6 separate regions of the Homo sapiens genome follow, and regions 1, 3, 4, 5 and 6 are each linked to region 2. Evidence: promoter capture Hi-C in 16 types of primary human blood cells and fetal thymus (Javierre and others, 2016). All regions are on one chromosome and are shown on one strand. The core of a region is centred on a gene start or on the middle of the fragment in contact, and the rest is flanking DNA. Distances in the headings are between cores, read along the strand shown. Region 1 holds the start of C5orf47 (chromosome 5 open reading frame 47). Region 2 holds the start of BOD1 (biorientation of chromosomes in cell division 1). Region 3 overlaps CPEB4 (cytoplasmic polyadenylation element binding protein 4). Region 4 overlaps CPEB4 (cytoplasmic polyadenylation element binding protein 4). Region 5 overlaps CPEB4 (cytoplasmic polyadenylation element binding protein 4). Region 6 overlaps CPEB4 (cytoplasmic polyadenylation element binding protein 4).

Region 1 (3,325 bases), core at 504-3,003, 370 kb before region 2:
ACGGATACAGGGGTTCTCTTGGGGTTAAAAATATTCTAAAATGGTGATGGTTGAATATGTGAACTAAGCATGCAAAACGGGTGAATTGTATGCACTGTGAACTATAGTTTAATAAAGCTGTTATTCCGTAAGTACAAGTGATGGAAATGTTCTATATCTTAATTATGGTGGCAGTTACTAGGGTGTGTATAAATCTGTCAAACCTCTTCGAAACATACGTAAATTAATCCTCAGTAAAGCTGACTTAGAAAAACCAAGAGAGGGCCTGGCGCGGTGGCTCACGCCTGTAATCCCAACACTTTGGGAGGCTGAGGCGGGTGGATCACCTGAGGTCAAGATTTCGAGATCAACCTGGTCAACATGGTGAAACCCCATCCCTACTAAAAATAGAAAAAAATTAGCTGGGCATTGGTGGCAGGTGCCTGTAATCTCAGCTACCTGGGAGGCTGAGGCAGGAGAATCGCTTGAACCAGGGGAGCGTAGGTTGCAGTGACCCAAGATCACGTCATTGCACTCTAGTCTGGGCAACAGGGCAAGACTCCATCTCAAAAAAAAGAAAGAAAAAGAAAAACCAAGAAAGGCTTGGCCCAGTGGCTCATGCATGTAATCCCAGGGCTGTGAGGCTGAGGCAGGAGGATCAGTTGGGCCCAGGAGTTCGAGACCAGCCTGGGTAACACAGGGAGACCCCCCCGCCCCCCATGTCTACAAAAGATAAAAAAAGTAGCTGGGCATGGAGGTGCCCACCTGTGGTCCCAGCTACTCGGGAGGCTGAGGTCAAGGCTGCGGTCAAGGCTGCAGTGAGCCTGTGATTGGACCACCACACTCCAGCCTGAGTGACACAGCAATACCCCGTCTCAAAAAAAAAAAAAAAAAATTGGCTTCCTATACACAGTGAGCATTTAGAGGGCATTTCGTAAAAAGAAACCCCATTTACAACAGCAAAGAAGATTAAATATTTAGGAATAAGTTGATCAAGACATATGCAAAACCTATGGGAGGATAATTTTTGAATTGAAGACATTTCCTGATTTAAACGTAAAGCTCATGCTGTTTTTAGCCAGGATGACTCAACAGCATCCGGAAGTCAATCCTCCAGGTGAGGGGGTTTGCGAAGTCAACGAATCTCACTCAGCTGGAACGGAAACACGCAGGCCAAAAGCCTCCGTGAGGGGGCCGTAAAGGCTCCATTCAACAACCTCTCCTCTTATGTCAGGTGCCCGTGCCGGCCACAGCTGGCCCTCTGAAGGGAATTACTGGGCTTCTCCTTCGCCCCTGCGCGTGCTCGCAACACGGCCTGACAGGAAAGCTGCCCCCAGCCTCCTGCGTGCCGCAAGATGGCGCCCAGCAGCTGAGCCCGCTCCGCCCCGTCCCGCCCCGCCGCGCCCGGTCCCGCCCTGCCCCGCTGCACCACCTGCACGCGCCGACTGTCTGGTGCCGCTCTGAACTCTCGATGCCCGCAGCTGGGAGGAGGCAGAGGCCGCAGCCTCCACACCAGGGGTCGTGGGGACCCTGAGCTGGGAACCGAGGGGCAGCTCGCTGCCACCCTGAACGCCCGCCACCGCCATTGCTTCCCTCGGCTTCTCCTGGCGACAGCCTGCCCCAGGCCCCTGACCCCAAAGGCCTTGAGCTCCACGGCCGCCCAGTTGCAGGACGCCACTGCACTGATGCGAGCCGAAGCGCGTCACATAGACGAAGCGCGCCGAGTCCTGCTCCCGACCCCGGCCTGCCGCCGCCATCGCAGCCTCAGTCAACGGCAGCCGGGCCCTCAGCAAACACGACGCCACAGGCGCCAGACTGCCCACTGTGCAGGCGAGGGATGCGGGAGCGGTTAGGGCCAGACCACCCTGCGGGGATTGGGGGGAGGGAGTTAGGGCCAGACCACCGCGTGAGGATTGGGGGGGGTTAGGACCAGACCACCCTGTGGGGATGGGGGGGACAAAGGGTTAGGGCCGGACCATGGCACCGCGATGAGGGGGACGGGTTTAGGGCCGGACCACCCCCCTAGGGATGCGGTGACAGGGTTAGGGCCAGACCACCGCGTGGGGATGGGGGGAGGGGGTTACGGCCGGACCACCTCGCAGGGATGGGGGTGGTGGGGTTAGGGCAGGACCACCCAGTAGGGATGGGGTGACGGGGTTAAGGCCGGATCACCACGTGGGGGTGGCGGGGACCACCATGCAGGGTGGGGCAGGGAAGTTAGGGCCAGACCACTGCTGGGGGGCTGGAGGGAGAAAGCTGGGCTTGAGGAGCGAGGCAGCCGGTCACTGCGTGGGCTGCAGGAGTAGGGGAAGGGCACGCTGCTGGGAGGTGAGAGGCCCAGGGGAGATGGAGGGAAGTGGGAAGAGGGCGGGTGTTGGGTTGGGGACGATGACGAGGTGCAGACCCCTCAGAAGAAATGAGCTACTCCAAGAAGAGGGTGGGAGAAAGGGACCAGGTCACTACTAGGGAGACGCCCCCATGCTTGGGTGCGGGAGGATTTCAGAGTGAGGAACCCACACGGGACTTGAGCAGCCTGGAGCATCAGCCACGTGACGCTGGGAGCCTGGGGGAGAACACAGAGCCCTTGGCTGCCGGAAGGTTCCAGTATGCCCTTGGCCTGGCAGGTGGTAGTGATGGAGCTGTGATCCCCAAGAGACACAGGGGTAGGGGGACAGGGGTCTGAGGCCCAAGCTGGTTAGGCACTGGCCAGCTGGGTTATTTGGGCAAGCCCTTTTCCCTCTCTCTCTCTTTTTCTTTCTTTTTTTTGAGACGGAGTCTCGCTCTGTCACTCAGGCTGGAGTGCAATGGTGCGATCTCGGCTCACTGTAACCTCCACGACCCAGATTCAAGCGATTCTCCTGCCTCAGCCTCCTGAGTAGCTGGGATTACGAGGATGTGCCACCACACCCCGCTTATTTTTGTATTTTTAGTAGAGGCCAGGTTTCACCATGTTGGCCAGGCTGGTCTTGAATTCCTAACCTCAGGTGATCCGCCAGCCTCCCAAAGTGCTGGGATTACAGGCGTGAGCCACCACACCCAGCCCCTTTCCTTCTCTGAGCCTCCATTGTCTTCAAATGTTAACTCAGGAGAACTGAGTTGTGAGGATAAATCAAAATAAGGCATATATTCAGCATCTGGCACACAGTGAGAGATAGTTATCCATTCAGGACGTAAACTGTGAGGTGCACATTGTAATTTCTTTACATTGAAACTTTACAAATAGGTTTCCACTAACCCTTTTTTTTTTTTCTTTTGTCAGTCTTGCTCTTTCTCCAGGGCTGGAGTCCAGTGATGCAATCTCAGCTGACTGCAATTTCTGCCTCCCAGGTTTAAGCGATTCGCTTGC
Region 2 (3,234 bases), core at 325-2,824:
GTGAATGATTGAGCTGGTGTTAGAGGATGAGTATAATCCAACACCTGAATGTTTCTTTTGAGGGTTAATTTAAACTCTCTTGGACAGGTGTGGTGGCTCACACCTGTAATCCCAGCACTTTGGGAGGCTGAGGCGGGTAGATCACTTGAGGTCAGGAATTCAAGACCAGCCTGGCCAACATGGTGAAACCCCCATCTCTACTAAAAATACTAAAATTAGCCAGGTATGGTGGCATGCGCCTGTAATCCCAGCTACTCGGGAGGCTGAGGCAGGAGAATTGCTTGAACCCAGGAGGTGGAGGCTGCAGTGAGCCAAGATTGCACCACTGCACTCCAGCCTGGGCGATAGAGTGAGACTCTGTCTCAAAAAAAAAAAAGAAAAAAAAATTAAACTGTCTTGAGTACTAAATATTGGTGTGGAGAACATCCTGGATCTTTGCCAATTCTGCATCTTCGCAGGAGCCAAGGATATTGCAGAATTTGCTATTTACATCCCCTCTGCTGCTTGTGTAAGATGAGGAAACAACAATAGCAGACATAATTGCTGAGGTTGGGAGGGGGAGCTGAGCTAACAATAGGCAAAAGATGAAGGGAAGAGAGGATAATGGTGGCAGCTATAGGATTCCAATGGTGAATTGTGGCTACTTAAAAAAATCAGGATATAAAGCCTTACCTATTGTGGGATACCAACTAGCTCTCAGGATACCTCAGGCTAAAATGCAAGATTTAGATCCTCAAAACCTGGGTTCAAATCCTACTTTTCTACCTCTAGGTATGTGATTAGGTTAACAAACTTTCTTCTGCCTCCATTTCTACGTCTGTAAATAGCAATAATAGTAGTATGTATCTGCTTTTTTAAATTATCGTGAAGAAGTGCGTGGAAAGTGCATAGCATCACGCCTGACACTTTTCAATTATTCAATATTGGCTTATGATTGACAATATTTAATATTTGGGAGGAAATCCACACACATATAAGACAGACTTAAGGAAAACTTTTATTTTCTTCTTCACACTTTTCCGTTATTTTCCAATTTTCTAAAATGAGTATGCATTGCTATTAAAACCAAAAGGAGGGAAACTCACAAATTTCTGAACAATAGAAGTTTGACTGTTCCACTGTTTCCGGAATTTCCCGGAACATGTTGTTCAAGAAGGACGTGGGAGTGCATGCTGAAGCACAGATTGCTAGGTCTCGACCCGTAAATACTGGATAAAAATCTTTAAGAAATAATTCTGGTAATCTATACTTTTAATCAGCTCCACAGATGACTGTTATAATCGGGCACTGCTGGGACGTGTTGATTGAATGGGAAGTGAGCAGAGAGTGGGCGGGGAAGGCCTGGCGGGGAAGGCCTGGCGGGTTGCAGCGATCACGAGGCCTGCGCCTACAGTTCCCATATTACCCCGCGAAATCGCGACGAGCAAGCACGAACCCTGCCGGGAGTTGTAGTTTCTCTCGGCTAGGCCGCTGCCTATAAAGAACGCCGGAGATGGCCACAGAAAACTTCCCGCCCCACAATGCAAAGGTCAACGTTGACGCCATCTGGGGTGCGCCTGGAATCGAGCAGGCCGTTTCTGCCGCGTCCACCACAACCTCTGCTGTATCAGAGGGGGCCTTCGCCGCCGCCGCCCCCACCACCGCCCCTGCCGCCATCGCCACCTCCGCCGCTGCCGCCTTGGGGCCCTCCTCCTTCACCGCCCCCTTCACCACCTCTACACGTTCTAGGCCTTCTGTCCTGGAGAAGAAGCTATAGTCGTTCTCCCTTGTGGGCCCGGGGCGCAGCCATGGCGGACGGCGGCGGCGGCGGGGGAACTGGCGCGGTGGGCGGCGGCGGAACTAGCCAGGCCTCTGCCGGGGCAGCGACTGGCGCTACTGGGGCCAGCGGGGGCGGTGGCCCCATCAACCCGGCCTCGCTGCCTCCCGGCGACCCGCAGCTCATCGCTCTCATCGTGGAGCAGCTCAAGAGCCGGGGCCTTTTTGACAGCTTCCGCCGGGACTGCCTGGCCGACGTGGACACCAAGGTAGCTGCGGCCGCCTGGGCGTTGGGGAGCGGGGCTGCACGTGAGGCCGCCGGGTGGCAGCTTTGATTTTCGAAAGCCGAGAGCAAAACAAAAGATAGCTTAGAAATCTCAGCGGTGAGGTCTTACACCGCTTGGGGCAGTACGGAGAGCTTTCTGAGCGATGCACACGTGGGTTCCTGCCTGATACATTTACTACTAGTTGTGATTTTACCCAGTCCCTTCTCCGAACTTGGGGTTTCAATGTGGGTTTTAGAGCCTAGACCGTATCATTCCCAAGATGGAACTCCTCTGAGGCCCTTAATAACAAACTTCGAAACCAAGTAGATAAGCAAGCGTGCTTTAGAATTTCCACCTGTTCCGTACTCACCACTGAGAAGCTGGCATTAAACACAATGATTTGAACACACAGTCATCACCATTTTATAGCTGTTTATTCCTTTTCTCTAGCTCATTGTTTTGCAGACTAGTACGGCGTTGAATTAAGATAAATTGTAGAAACAGCACCCTTATTTTGCACTTCATCATTGATAAAAGGAGATTTGGTGCCTAGTTGAGATCCTAATGCCATTGGTCAGTCCCACCAGTAAAACGCTATTTCACTTTACCTACTCGTCAGGGTGGTTTGGATTCAATGAAATAATGGGTGTTAAGTATCAGACATACAGTAGTTGCTGGAATGTTCATTTTCTTCCTTTTCAAAACTTGTCTAGCCACGACTGTGGTTGTAGGTTAGGAGACCCTGTCACTGGACTCCTGCAGGGTAGTGATTTCTCCTACCAGAGCCTGTCATGGAAACATTTTGCTTACCTCACAGCAAGATTGTGAGCTTAGAATTAGACCTTAAGATAGGGAAAAACGTAGTCTGTTTATTCGTTGAACGTTTATTGGCCTCTAGTTGCCAAGCTGTGCGATTACAGGAATAAGTCACTACCCCATCCTCAAAACTTATAGTCTAGGTTAGAAAACTGACATGTAAATAAACCAGGTGGTAAATACGGATGTAGAGAGAGAAAGTGGTATACACTGTTCCTTCTCCAAGATGAAAAGCCCAACTAGAAGTCTGTCCTTGAAACAAAGTAATTTAATACATATACATCCCAGATCTGTATTGACAGAGCTTTCACCTTTCCTAGGACAAGTTCTCCATTCATATTTCTTATATTCCGTTAGGTTTTGTGTGTGATTTTAAAACAAAAGCGACTACAGTAGC
Region 3 (3,123 bases), core at 340-2,839, 310 kb before region 2:
AAAGATTTCCTACTGCCAGTAAAGCTAACAACAAACCAGCAAGCAGGAAGGCTATTTTTATCCTTGCCAGAAGCCTTCTGACTCTAGATGCTACATTTAGAGGACAGAGCAACAAGATAACTTGCCTTAAGAGGATGTTATGATACCAGAGATTAATGGCAATTTTTTAAGCTCTAAAAAACTCGGCAAAACTAGGTGTAGTTTTTGTCCAAGCTAAGCCAGCCAAAGTCAGTTGGAAAAAAAAAGGTGAAAAAAATATAATGGAAAGAAAAGTGGAAAAACAGACCAAGTAGTAGAAAAAATTAAAGCAATCCAGAAAAAAAGCCAAGGCAGTAAATTAAAATTCTCCTACCTTGCAAAAAGTTTGCTTAAAAGAAGCATGTGTTACAAGAGACATATATTAAAAGAACCAATGAATAAAGAACTGGCCCCAAGGTGAAAATAATTTTGACAAATGGCTCTCTGTGCTGACATGAACATAAAAAAACACCAAGATAAACTTATGAAATCTCTAGGGACCACAAGCTAAGTCAGTGTAAATGATTGAGAACTTTAGAGATAAGAGAGAGAAGCCACAAGAGATCTAATTAGACTTTTCTCTGACTACAGAAACTAAAGAGAATTAAGACTGAGTTTCTTATTTATAACCATTATTTTATAAAATAGAATGCTACTACACTGATAAAAAGTTGCATTAAAACTGTTTACTGAAGTCCAAACCCCAAAAAGCAATCTGCAAAGTCACTAGTTGGCTTTCTGCATACAGACCTATCTATCATTAACTCTAGTCACTTACTTAACATGAATTCTGACAACTTTTCTGAACCTTAATGAAAAATGGACTTGCATTTTATATCTGATATAAGAATTTCACCTTTTGTTATTTCTCAGAAGGCCCACTACCTATTTTCTCCTATCAATACTCTGGGTTCTTACTTTTCCTCTTATTAATCTTCTAAATTAAATAATAAACAGGATATTCAAAGATGTCTGGTAATTATTTGGAAAATAAGCTGCATGAAGCCAGGAACCTTTGTTTTTAGTTAGTCCCTGATATATCCCAACAACCATAGTACCTGGTGCACAGTAGATGCCTGATGTATATTTGTTGTATGAATGGCCTCAGACAGCTCTGGACTTTACATATACATCCAAAGCAGCGCAAAAGTTGGGGGTGGGAAGCGAAGGAAGTGTATCTGAATCACATGAAGAATGCACATGCTTAAGTCCCATGGCAAATCTGGTGAATCAGAATCAGGGAAGAGAACAAGTCAACTTGGAAAAGTTTCCACTCCCAATAAGGCACACTTCAGTATGAAACCAGCCAACTGTGATGTGTGAATCTTTCATAGATTATGATAAAATACAGATTTTTAAATTTTGTACCATCTCCTAAATTGAAATTAAGAAATCTTGGCCAGGCATGATGGCTCATGTCTGTAATCCCAGCACTTTGGGAGGCCAAGGCAGGTGAATTGCTTGAGCCCAGGAGTTTGAGACCAGCCTAGGCAACATGGCAAAGCCCCATTTCTGCAAAAAATACAGAAATTAGCCAGGTGCACTGGCAGGCACCTGTAGTTCCAGCTACTTGGGAGGCTGAAGTGGGAGGAGCGTTTGAGCCCAGGAGGCGGAGGCTGCAGTGAGCCAAGATTGTGCCACTGCACTCCAGGATGGACAACAGAGCTAGACCCTGTCTCAAAAAAGAAAGAAAGAAAGAGAAAGAGAAAAAAAAATTGAATGCCTACCCTCTGTCAAAGCATACTAGACAAAAATGTTTCCATTTTCTTATGTTTGTTTCCTTCTCAGAGGCTACACAATAAATACTCAGGCCATTGAACCAGGAGCCAGAAGCTGTGTGTTCCTCCTATATTGACCCTTGTAGGTACCAGGAATCTGAGTGACTTTACAGAAGCTGTTGCATCTTTGGGATCTCCAATTCTTTTCAACTGTAAAATGAAGACCACAAAACTCACATAACAGGTTACCGTAAGGATCTGGGTTACAAATAATTCTCAGAAGGGGCACTGAATAAAAGAGAAATGGTATCAGAGGTAAGCACCCTTTCACTTGAAACTGGTTAATGCTGCTTCCCATACAGAATGTCCAGGTCTACCTCGAAAAGGAAAAATGCAGCACAGCATCAAAACTATCCTTCAATCTACCTGGCACATTGAATATGTTCAAATATTTGTGGAGGTGGAGTATAAGCAGAAGCTAAAATATAAGACACTTCCAAACCATGTGGCTTAAAGAGGCTTTAGTAGCACTTGCCTCCCCCTCCTAACAAGAACTGCCATGTTATACAACACGGAGTGCACCCATCTCGTCAGATGGCTCCCTCTACCCCCTGGCATCATGCAGGATGTAGCCTCAGCAGCCCATATTCTTAACCCTGCTACAAAGGAATAAAGATGGCTTCAGATGTCAGGAAGCTCCAAAATGCTACTTGGTGGAGAGGACAATTTAGGAGAGCGTCAGTAGCCTCCTCACTCCTCCCTGTCCTCCTCCTCACCATTTCCTCTGTTAAATTCCTTTTTTATGTTATGTTCTTTTTTGTAACAAGGAGCATTCTAATGGCAAGAGTATAAAGCAGAAAAATTAGGGAAGTTCTCTAGAGCAGTATTTCATAATCTGTTGTAATAACTATTAAGACCTACTTTGATCAAAATATTTCAGAGAGGCTTTCCTCCATAATAATAACTGAAGACTCCTACCCCTGTCTCTACCCTAAGTAAAACAGAACAAAAACAAAAAAAAATCTTAATATCAGAAGGCTACTATGAACTCAGCAACACCTTTAAATGTATTTTAATTGCATTACATCAGCATCCACATGCTTTTGGAAGATAATCATGCATACACAAGTGACATCTATCATCTAACTGGAATGCCTGGTCACTAATGGGTTCACAGGCTCTATCAAATAATTCCCATGGCTGAAGAGGCCCATGGTTCACAAATGGAGAACAAAAACATTTCACGAGGCCAAGTTTAAACAACTGTTTTCTAAACATAATATTTTTAGGCCTATCTCAAAAAGAAAAGATGTAGTTTAGACCCAAAGCCTTCACTCAACCGACTAAATCTGATCTCTGATTATAGCCCTTATACAAACTACTCCAT
Region 4 (3,073 bases), core at 522-3,021, 320 kb before region 2:
TTTATATGTTTATCCACTTGTATTATTTCTTAGTTTTGATTTATTTTATTTTTATTTTTGGAGATGGATTCTCGCCCAGGCTGGAGTGCGGTGGCACGATCTCAGCTCACTGCAACCTCTGCCTCCCAGATTCAAGCAATTCTTCTTGCCTCAGTCTCGCTGGGACTATACACCACCACATCCAGCTTTTTTTTTTTTTTTTTGTATTTTATTAGAGACATGGTTTTACCCTGTTGAACAGGCTGGTCTCAAACCCCCGAGCTCAGGCAATCTGCCCACTTCAGCCTCCCAAAGTGCTAGGATTACAGGCGTGAGCCACCGTGTCCAGCCTAGTTTTGATTTATAAAGTCCTCAATAATTTAATGTTCAGAACTAACAGGATTCAAGATTGTTAAAAAAAAAAAAAGGCTCAAAATATTATGGCCATAAATTTTTATAACTTCTGGATACCTGCTATTAGATCTATTGATATACTTTATTTCTAAAACGTCTTTACAGGATTGCTTACAAATGCTTCCTTTCCTTGTTATTAGCCCTATATGCAGAATCAAATTCCCTCTAGCAAAATGTTCCATTAATCTGTAATGCCAGACTTACGAAGAAGGTACAGAAAGACTTGTCAGGGCTCCCCTGACTTTCTCCCTCCCCATACATTTTATTATAAAAATAAAATATTATTTATCCCATAAAAAGTACTTTTTTCTCATTTGTTGCAACATTTGTAATAATCAAAAAGAAACAAAGTACCCACACATTCAAAAGAAGAAACACCTAGTAGGTGGCATTTGTATGTATGTATGTATGTATGTATGTATGTACGTATTTCAAAGGAGCAACCCTATTAACTGAGCATGTGGCATTTTTAAATGTGGCTCACGTTCATGTACCTAAAGCTCTCTAAGATGCTGGCCTGCATGCAGTGTCTAAGTGTGTATTGTAGAATCCTTATTGTGTACATTTAAAAATAAAGAAAATATAAATAGATATGTGGGACTATGCATAAAATCTTTTTACTTTTTATTTTATTTTTATTTTTATAGAGATGGGGTTTTGCCATGTTGCCCAGGCTGGTCTCAACTCCTGGGCTCAAGAAATCCATCCACCTGGGCCTCCCCAAGTGCTAGGATTGTAAGCATGAGCCATTGCGCCTGGCCATGAAATACTTTTTTCTAGAAACAACCACAAGAACCTTTGGAGAGAGAAACTTCTAGAAAGAGGAAAGAAGGCATTCACTTCTTGTTTTATCCCTTTTTGTACCATTTGAATTTATTATTATTGCATATGCTATATTGCTATATTTGTTAATGAACCCTTTTTGGTTTTCTCCTTGGTACTAATATTAAAAATGAACAAATGACATTATTACTTTCATACAAAAGCATACTTTCCTACATGACAGCACCTAATCAATTCTGTCACGAATAGGACTTTAGGCCATGAAGGATAAGATATTACTATGTTTTAGTGGACAATGAAAAAACGGATCCTATTCGGGTTACGCTGATCTACCTTAGGCTCTCCAACTGTGCACCTCTCTCTGCCCCAAGGTGAGAAGACAAATAGCAATTCTATCTGGAAAAAAAAGGGGGGTGTAGCTCAGATGATAAGATGTTATCAGATAACTGGCTTCTTTTGGCTAGGCATGGTGGCTAACACCTATAACCCCAGCACTTTGGGAGGTTGAGGTGGGCAGATCATTTGAGGTCAGGAGTTCGAGACCAGCCTGGCCAATATGGTAAAACCCTGTCTATACTAAAAATATAAAAATTAGCTGGGTGTGGTGGCACATGCCTGTAATCGCAGCTACTTGGTAGGCTAAGGCAGGAGAATTGCTTCAACCCGGGAGGTAAAGATTGCAGTGAGCTGAGATTGCACCACCGCACTCCAGCCTGGGCAACAGAGCGAGATTCCGTCTCAAAACAGTACAAAACAAAACAAAACAACCTGACTTTTCCAGGAGGACTAAAAGAAAATATATGGGGAGAGGAGTGTAGAAATTAGCCAAATTAGTAAATCAGTTGAAAAGATATAAATCAAAGGCTTGAAGCTAAAAGGAATTAATCTGTGAACAAAAGAATAAAGATGGTAGAACCAAAAAGCAGACACAATCATCACAAAGACCAAAGCATACGATTCAACAAAGATGCAAAGAACCATTTTAAATGATTTTATAAATTAATCCCTAATTTAATAGGCTCACTGCCACAAAATTAATTTACATTTGCTTTATAGTTAGAAATTCCTATCACATTGGCTTATGCTTATATTAGCTTGTTGGTACAACAACATTCAAAGAATGTTCCTAAGATATGATAAAGACACTATTATTTGTAAGGCCTACCTTAGAAAAGAGCAGAGAATGCAACTCTAGTTTCCTTATGTCCCTAACCCTCAGTTTCTTTATTTATAAAAATGGGAAGCAAATGAGAGAATAATGAAAAACACAATGTGTATATGTAATGGTCAGTCACATACTCAATAAATAATCTCCCTTTCCCAAAAGTAAATTCATATGCATATATTCTGAGTATGATCTTCAACAATTATTCTCAGCTTTTCATTAGCATTTTAAGGTTAACAATTGTAGAGCACTTTAGAGTTTACAGTTTGTTTTCATATTATCTTTTCAATGAAGGGATCTTTCAACATGCTTATTATTGTAGCAACTAGAACCATATTACACACATTTTCAGTAAGTGATCATCATCTACATTTCTCTTGAGTAAATTACACCTTCCTTTTTGATAGATTTCTTCCCCCTCCCAAGCAAACAATCTTCCTCTTTTCATTCCAAAAAACTATAATTAAGAGATGTTGGGCCGGGTGAGGTGACTCACACCTGTAATCCCAGCACTTTGGAAGGCCGAGGCAGGCCGATCACTTGAGATCAGGAGTTCGAGACCAGCCTGGCCAACATTGTAAAACCCCATCTCTACTAAGAATACAAAAATTAGCTGGGCATGGTGGCAGGTGCCTGTAATCTCAGCTACTTGGGAGGGTGAGGCAGGACAATTGCTTGAACCTGGGAGATGGAGGCTACAGTGAGCCGAGATGGAGCCACTGCACTCCAGCC
Region 5 (3,081 bases), core at 149-2,648, 280 kb before region 2:
AGATAGTGATAAGCTCTGTATGACAGAGCTTATACTATCACCATGCGCCATGAGCTTCACTCATTTTCATATCCACAGCTTGTAGCATGCCGTAAAGCCATCGCCACTGATATAGAAAGTGGCTAACATGTTCCTCCTGGCTCTGTGTTGTGCATCTTACATGAATTACATAACATTTACATATATTAGTTCCTCACAACCATCATATGAAGTCAGTACTGTCATTTATTTTCCCCATCGTAGGCAAATGAAGCTAGGAGAAGTTAACTAATTGCCCTACAAAGTCACACAGTAAGTGGTCGAGTCTGACTTCAGAGCAGATGTTCAGGAAAAGTGGTTTAAGTGAAGTTTTGTTTGGGCCTAGAATTTTTGCTCTATTATTACCTGCCAGGTATGAAATCCTTCACTATATATACGTGGCCTGAATGAAGACAACGAGCATCAGAGATTAAAGTTAAAGTGGTAATTATCTGAAGCAGGAGGGACCACATTTAACAGCATCTCATATTTCTTTGCAAGTTCCCTCTTCAATCAGTACTTTTTCATTATAGCTCCTGTAATGAAGGTAGAGTCTAACAGATCTTAGGTTACCACATGTTCCCTAATAGAATTATGATCTACAACTAAATGAATGAATGTCTTCAGTGTATTACCTTGGATCAACAGCTCCATTTGGTTGCCATGTTAATTGACAAATAAGATCTCTCCAGAAAGCCTCTGAGAACATTTTTTATTGCACCTTTACTAAATAAATCACATTCATTTTGAGCATTATAAATCCTTAAAATGATAAACATTTCTTGTCATCACTTATTTGTATTAAAAAACCAAATGACCATTCTAGGCTTGATTAGTCAGTCAGTTCCTGAATCAATAGACCTTTTCTTCTTCTTGACAATTTGTTCATACTAATCTTGCCTAGCAGAGAGAAATAATTAAAATCTATCACAAGCTTTGATACTTGTGATACTAAGTATCAAACATACTAAGCAAGTGATCTTGATGCTGCAATATCATTGAACCTTAATTTCATCAGCAAAACGAGGATAATAGCACCTCCCTTATAAATCTGTAGTGAAAAGCCAGTGAGATAAGGTATATGGGCAGCAGGAGCACAAAGCATGGCGGTTAGTGAACTCATTCAATAAACATTTCTCTGCCCCTTCTATGGTGCAATGAAAAAAAGCATGAAACTCACATTTTAAATTAGATATCGGTTGTATCTGAATAAGTCAGTGATTCTGTGCTATTTTCTATAACCTGTTTTCATAGAGATAATCAAAATATGTTCAAACCTATGACCCCAAAACTATCAGTATAAGACTTCTCCCTAATAAACTATTCAGGGCAAGAAGTCATTAGTTCAAGGAAAGCAGGTAAACAATACTAACACTCAGCCTTGAGGAATGAAGTTATTTAGACCTCAACTGGCTGTTAGAGTTCCTGTTCTCCATGTCTGCTAGGTCTGAGCAGGGTCCGGCGTCAGCAGGGAGAGGGGTCCACCCTAATGTACAACTTTTTTTTTTTTTGAGACAGAGTTCCGCTGTTGTTGTCCAGGCTGGAGTGCAATGGCGCGATCTCGGCTCACTGCAACCTCTGCCTCCTGGGTTCAAGTGATTATTCTGCCTCAGCCTCCAGAATAGCTGGGACTACAGGCGCCCGCCACCACACCAGGCTAATTTTGTATTTTTAGTAGAGATGGGGTTTCTCCATATTGGTCAGGCTGGTCTCGAACTCCCGACCTCAGGTGATCCGCCCACCTCAGCCTCTCGCAGTGCTGGGATTACAGGCGTGAGCCACCACACCTGGCCAATGCACAACCTTTATTCCTAAACTGAAGCTTATGTCTTGTAACCCTCGACATCTCTTCTGTGAGCCTTGACAGTGATCTCAAAAGGCAGCTTGTGCCCAGCCTCCACATTTCCAGACTCTCACAACACCCCCCGACCCCCATCCACAGTTCTCCAGAATCTCCTGGGCAGAAGGCACTCCTCAACACTCAAGCACAAAGAGGAGGTCACTGGCCAGTGCACTTCAGGAGCAGAAGTATCACGTTTGCCATAGCTAAGCATCCTCAGCCCATGGCCCTTCAAAAGCATCAAACATTTGTGCACTGAAAGCAAGCAAGAAATGTAAAAAGTTGATGCAGTCTAAAAGTCTGCAAGGGACCCCAAACCTCTACATTCCTCTTAAAAAACAGAAAAACAAAAAAGACAGCAACCATAAAAGCTCAGTCCTGTCCTGTTCTCTCACTCATCTTTCCTTTCAGAGGTCTTGCCCACAAGTCCACAGAAGTGTGAACCTAGAGAAAGGATAAGATGAAGGGAGGAAAACGGTATACTCTCCTCCCAAATTTCGAATCACTAGCTGGTATTTGGGTGCTTTAACTGGATCTCTTATTTTTCTATGTTACAGAAAGAGAAGATGAAGCCAACAGTGGTCCACCACTATTGGCACCAGGTTGAGCAGTGAAACAGACTGAGCAGGTACAACAGAAATGTGGGCCTTGCTTCAGTTTCTCACTACCCTTCTTTAAAAAAACAACTTGAAAAAAATTTTAATGTTTTCTCTTAAAGACTCCTCTAGAGACACATACTGAACCATTTACAGATGAAATAATATGATATGAAGCAATTGCTTCAAAATAATACAAATGGGGAGAGAGAGGATTAAGGGTATAGATGAAACAAGATTGTCCAGGAGCTGATAATTGTTGAAGCCAGGTGACACATACATGGGAGTTCACTAGACTATTCTGTCTACCATGGAATATATTTAAATTTTTCCATAATAAAAATTTAAGAAGACATGGGTCAGGGGGTGCTTTACCAAGAGAGAAAAAAAATATCACCAGTTGGTCACTTTCAGCAGTGTTCAAGAAAATCAGTGTGTCATCTAGCCTCAGTCCCACCATTATTTAAGTATAGTGACTTTAGGAATTGTATTTTATTTATTTAAAATTAAGTTCAGGCCAGGTGCGGTGGCTCACGCCTATAATCCCAGCACTTCCGGAGGCCAAAGCGAGCGGATCACCTGAGGTCAAGAGTTCGAGACCAGCCTGGCCAACATGGTGAACTAAAA
Region 6 (3,328 bases), core at 502-3,001, 350 kb before region 2:
TTCTTCTGAACCAAATCATTCCGTCATTGAAGTCAGCAGTGCTGAGAGTCATCTGATGGATGTGACTATTCCACATTCCCACCCTCACCCCACCCCACCCTCACCCCACCCTCACCCCACCCCACCCCACCCCAACCCTCACCCTCACCCCACCCCACCCTCACCCCACCCCACCCTCACCCCACCCCACCCCAACCCTCACCCTCACCCCACCCTCACCCTCACCCCACCCCACCGTCACCCTCACCCCACCCCACCCTCACCCACCCTACCCCACCCAGCACGCTGTTGGAATCAAACCTTCTGTCACCAAACACTCAAGGACCCACAGCACTTTTCCCTCAAACATGAAAGGGGAATTGTGCCTTTGAAGCGGCGTTGTGGTCTGGGGTAAGTACCCGAGGTTCGTCGTCTCGTGCCAGGGAAATCAACAACGCGGACATACAAGAAGTGAGTTTAACCCTGGAGGTTCAATAAGCAAAAGAAAGAGAATAGCTCTCTCTCTTAGGAGAGAGAGGGGCTCCCGGGTGGGACTTCCGGCTCCACAATGAAATGCATGGGATTTTATAGATGAGCTTGAGGAGGCGTGTCTGATTCACGTAGGGCCAGAGAGATTGGTCGGACCAGGCGTGACACTTGCATCACGCACAAAGAAGCTGGCCATCCCACCCTAATCTTTTATTATGCAGATGGGGGTCTCTACCTGGCCAACGCCATGTTGCCTGCCTTTCTACTGCACACATAGCGACAAAGAAAAGGAAGAGGGAGCCTCCATGTTGAACATGCCTGGCCCCCAGCTAGCCTTTTCCTGTTGGCACAGCTGCCGGCATTTACCTATGCAGGCTTCCAGCTTGCTTATTTATGTCTGCAGCTCGATTTTACAGGCTGCTCTTTGTTAGAAAAGAAATGATTTGGGGGCTGCTTTTTGTTAAAAGGGAAGCCTGAGGACTCTCTTACCCTCGCTAACCGCCTAAATAATTTCCTTTTAGCTCCTGTATCACCTTCATTCCTCCAAATAAGGAAGCGCCAGGTCTTTCTTGGATCCTAGCTAAAACATTCTTTGCAGCTTCACATAATTATTTTACCACCACCCCTCCCGGTTCTCTTCCTGGGTAACTGATTTCACGAGTTTAAAATGCCCTGCTGCCTTTGGTGGGTTCTGGGGAGTCACTCCTAGGTCTCACAGGGAGGTGGGAGAAGAGTTGAAAATAATCTCTTTAAAATGGTGACATTTGCTTGATCACATTGACATTTTTAGGGTATCAAAGCCGGGCTTCCTGAAATAGAACTCCGATGAAAAGGATAAAGAAAGCTCAAGCTTAGCTGCTGGCATTTGCGTGCACTGATTCACCACCTCCAGCCCAGCTACCCACAGGCAGTTTTTCCCTGACACTGAATCAAATTACACGCAATACTAAAGGCTGGAGGTTTGCTCACATTCTGATTTGGGATGCTGCTGTTCATTTTTAACTTCCCTGAGACAATGTGTACTTTTCCAACTCTGGTCACCACGCTGAATCACAATAAGACACTTTTTCCAGACAGCCAACAATGACACCCAGCTTGACTAGAGAAAGATGATAACCCAAAATATCCTGAGAAGACTCAAGGCACGGCAAAATAAAATGTTCTCTAATGAGGACGACTGAATTGGTATTGCTAGGTAAGAGTTCCTAGTGGGGCGCAAATGTTCATTTTCTAAATTCTTAGAATTTATTCAAAGCCAGTGGCGCCTATTCTCAAGAGAATCAGCGGGTGAGGGGTGCTGAGGGAAGTTTGCAAAAGAAAATTTTGAAGGAGGATATAGGAATGATGAGAAAGGGAGACAGCATATCATAGAATGGCAGATTCAAAGCACTAGCTGCTTGTCTCAAGTGGCATTTGAGGCACTCATGAGAAACAAGGGCTGGTCTGAGACAGTGAAAAGCATAATCAAAATAGCTTTATTGTGCAAAGTAACTTCTCTTTTTCTTTCTTCTGGGATGGTAGTAGAGGGAAGACGAATTAGGAGGATGCACTGGAACTAGGACAGGGCTTAGAAGCTACGTAAGTACCTAGAACTCCAGTAAAGTAGGTGTGGGCAATGAAAGCAGCTCTGAAAGTGGCTCACAAGTGGCAGGGCCAAGCACCCTTCCAGAACACATGTATGGATGCCAAAAAACAAAGTGGGGTTTCAAAGCTTCTTGAAACATACTAAAATGTTACAGTGGTATAGCCCAAAGTATGTTCCATGTGTTACCTGTAAACAGAATCTGTAGTCAGAGAAATTGGAGTGAGAGGGACACTTTCAACAAAGTAAATAGGTTTCTGGCTGGGCACGGTGGCTCACGCCTGTAATCCCAGCACTTTGGGAGGCCAAGGCGGGCGGATCACCTGAGGTCAGGAGTTCGAGACCAGCCTGACCAACATGGAGAAACCCCATCTCTACTAAAAATACAAAATTAGTTGGGCATGGTGGTGCATGCCTGTAATCCCAGCTACTTTGGAGGCTGAGGTAGGAGAATGGCTTGAACACGGGAGGCAGGGGTTGCAGTGAGCTGAGAGCACACCATTGCACTCACTCCAGCCTGGGCAACAAGAGCAAAACTCCATCTCAAAAAAATAAATAAATAAAATAAAATAAAATAAAATAAAATAAAAAAGATTTCTTCATTGTAGAATTTCTTGAAGTCTTAATAAGCTAATGTGCAAATGTGCATTATTTTGACTTTGCAAGAAACAAGGTGACCCATTTTCTAAGTGTATTTAATGGTAAAACTTTATTTTTTTTTGTCTTTTTCTTGTGGAAAGGACTATCCTAGTCCTCTGAAGATCACAGTCTGAAATATTAGAGTTTTGTCTTGTTTATTATTCGGTTATTACACATTTCAGAAAATAATTACTCCTTAAAAATTTCTAACTCACTGACACCTTCAGTATTCTTCAATTTTTAAAATCAGAGATTACTTTCCCCATGACTTTTGATCAAACTATTTCCCAAACTTAAAAAAAAAAAAAAATCCCTAGAAAAAGTACTTACTTTCTGATCTAGCTGTGGACACAAACACCCATTACCAAAAGGGGTTATGAAATGACTTGATTGTTAAGAGTGTGGTAGAGAATTTCCACTGTTTATTCATCTGGTTAGACAGTAAAAACAAAAGATAAAAATAAAAAGAATTTTCCTCGTTGGGTAGGTTTAGGCAATCAGTGAATGAAGAAATATAGCCCAGGAAGCCTCTTACACCCTTTCCAGACACACCATTCTGTGATTTAAAACACCCAAAGCAATGCACCTATGTAATTTCAAGATAGAGTTGTTATATCACATATCATTGATATCTCACTT

Evidence for each region. The method cuts DNA at HindIII sites, captures the fragments that hold promoters and counts their contacts. A CHiCAGO score of 5 or more calls a contact.
Region 1: a contact is called between a fragment that was not itself captured here and the fragment with the promoter of BOD1 in region 2, in 17 of 17 cell types (activated CD4 T cells, naive CD8 T cells, neutrophils and 14 more). The highest score is 18.4, in activated CD4 T cells.
Region 3: a contact is called between a fragment that was not itself captured here and the fragment with the promoter of BOD1 in region 2, in 17 of 17 cell types (naive CD8 T cells, total CD8 T cells, activated CD4 T cells and 14 more). The highest score is 53.8, in naive CD8 T cells.
Region 4: a contact is called between a fragment that was not itself captured here and the fragment with the promoter of BOD1 in region 2, in 17 of 17 cell types (total B cells, naive B cells, neutrophils and 14 more). The highest score is 20.3, in total B cells.
Region 5: a fragment that was not itself captured here is called in contact with the fragment with the promoter of BOD1 in region 2 in 16 of 17 cell types (total B cells, neutrophils, naive B cells and 13 more); the score reaches 14.1 in total B cells.
Region 6: a fragment that was not itself captured here is called in contact with the fragment with the promoter of BOD1 in region 2 in 17 of 17 cell types (neutrophils, monocytes, non-activated CD4 T cells and 14 more); the score reaches 37.6 in neutrophils.

What each region holds. Positions count from the first base shown.
Region 1 is chr5:173,987,675-173,990,999 of GRCh38, reverse strand. C5orf47 (chromosome 5 open reading frame 47) reads right to left here and starts at 1,830. Exons shown (of 5, transcript NM_001144954.2): 1 at 1,412-1,830. The coding sequence starts at 1,736. The HindIII fragment of the contact is 5,296 bases long and covers 1-3,325 here.
Region 2 is chr5:173,614,990-173,618,223 of GRCh38, reverse strand. It overlaps BOD1 (biorientation of chromosomes in cell division 1), which reads left to right and starts at 1,574. Exons shown (of 4, transcript NM_138369.3): 1 at 1,574-2,024. The coding sequence starts at 1,788. RefSeq lists enhancers at 1,298-1,377, 1,398-1,657 and silencers at 1,638-1,707, 1,718-1,767. The HindIII fragment of the contact is 8,451 bases long and covers 1-3,234 here.
Region 3 is chr5:173,920,823-173,923,945 of GRCh38, reverse strand. The region is part of intron 2 of CPEB4 (cytoplasmic polyadenylation element binding protein 4); the gene reads right to left. Among named protein-coding and RNA genes, the nearest start is that of CPEB4, 34 kb to the right of the region's middle. The HindIII fragment of the contact is 6,186 bases long and covers 1-3,123 here.
Region 4 is chr5:173,937,087-173,940,159 of GRCh38, reverse strand. The region is part of intron 3 of CPEB4 (cytoplasmic polyadenylation element binding protein 4); the gene reads right to left. Among named protein-coding and RNA genes, the nearest start is that of CPEB4, 50 kb to the right of the region's middle. The HindIII fragment of the contact is 5,398 bases long and covers 1-3,073 here.
Region 5 is chr5:173,898,854-173,901,934 of GRCh38, reverse strand. The region is part of intron 1 of CPEB4 (cytoplasmic polyadenylation element binding protein 4); the gene reads right to left. Among named protein-coding and RNA genes, the nearest start is that of CPEB4, 12 kb to the right of the region's middle. RefSeq lists a silencer at 1-209. The HindIII fragment of the contact is 888 bases long and covers 955-1,842 here.
Region 6 is chr5:173,961,389-173,964,716 of GRCh38, reverse strand. It overlaps CPEB4 (cytoplasmic polyadenylation element binding protein 4), which reads right to left. Exons shown (of 10, transcript NM_030627.4): 10 at 2,737-3,328. Among named protein-coding and RNA genes, the nearest start is that of C5orf47, 26 kb to the left of the region's middle. RefSeq lists enhancers at 304-1,186, 81-1,280. The HindIII fragment of the contact is 861 bases long and covers 1,321-2,181 here.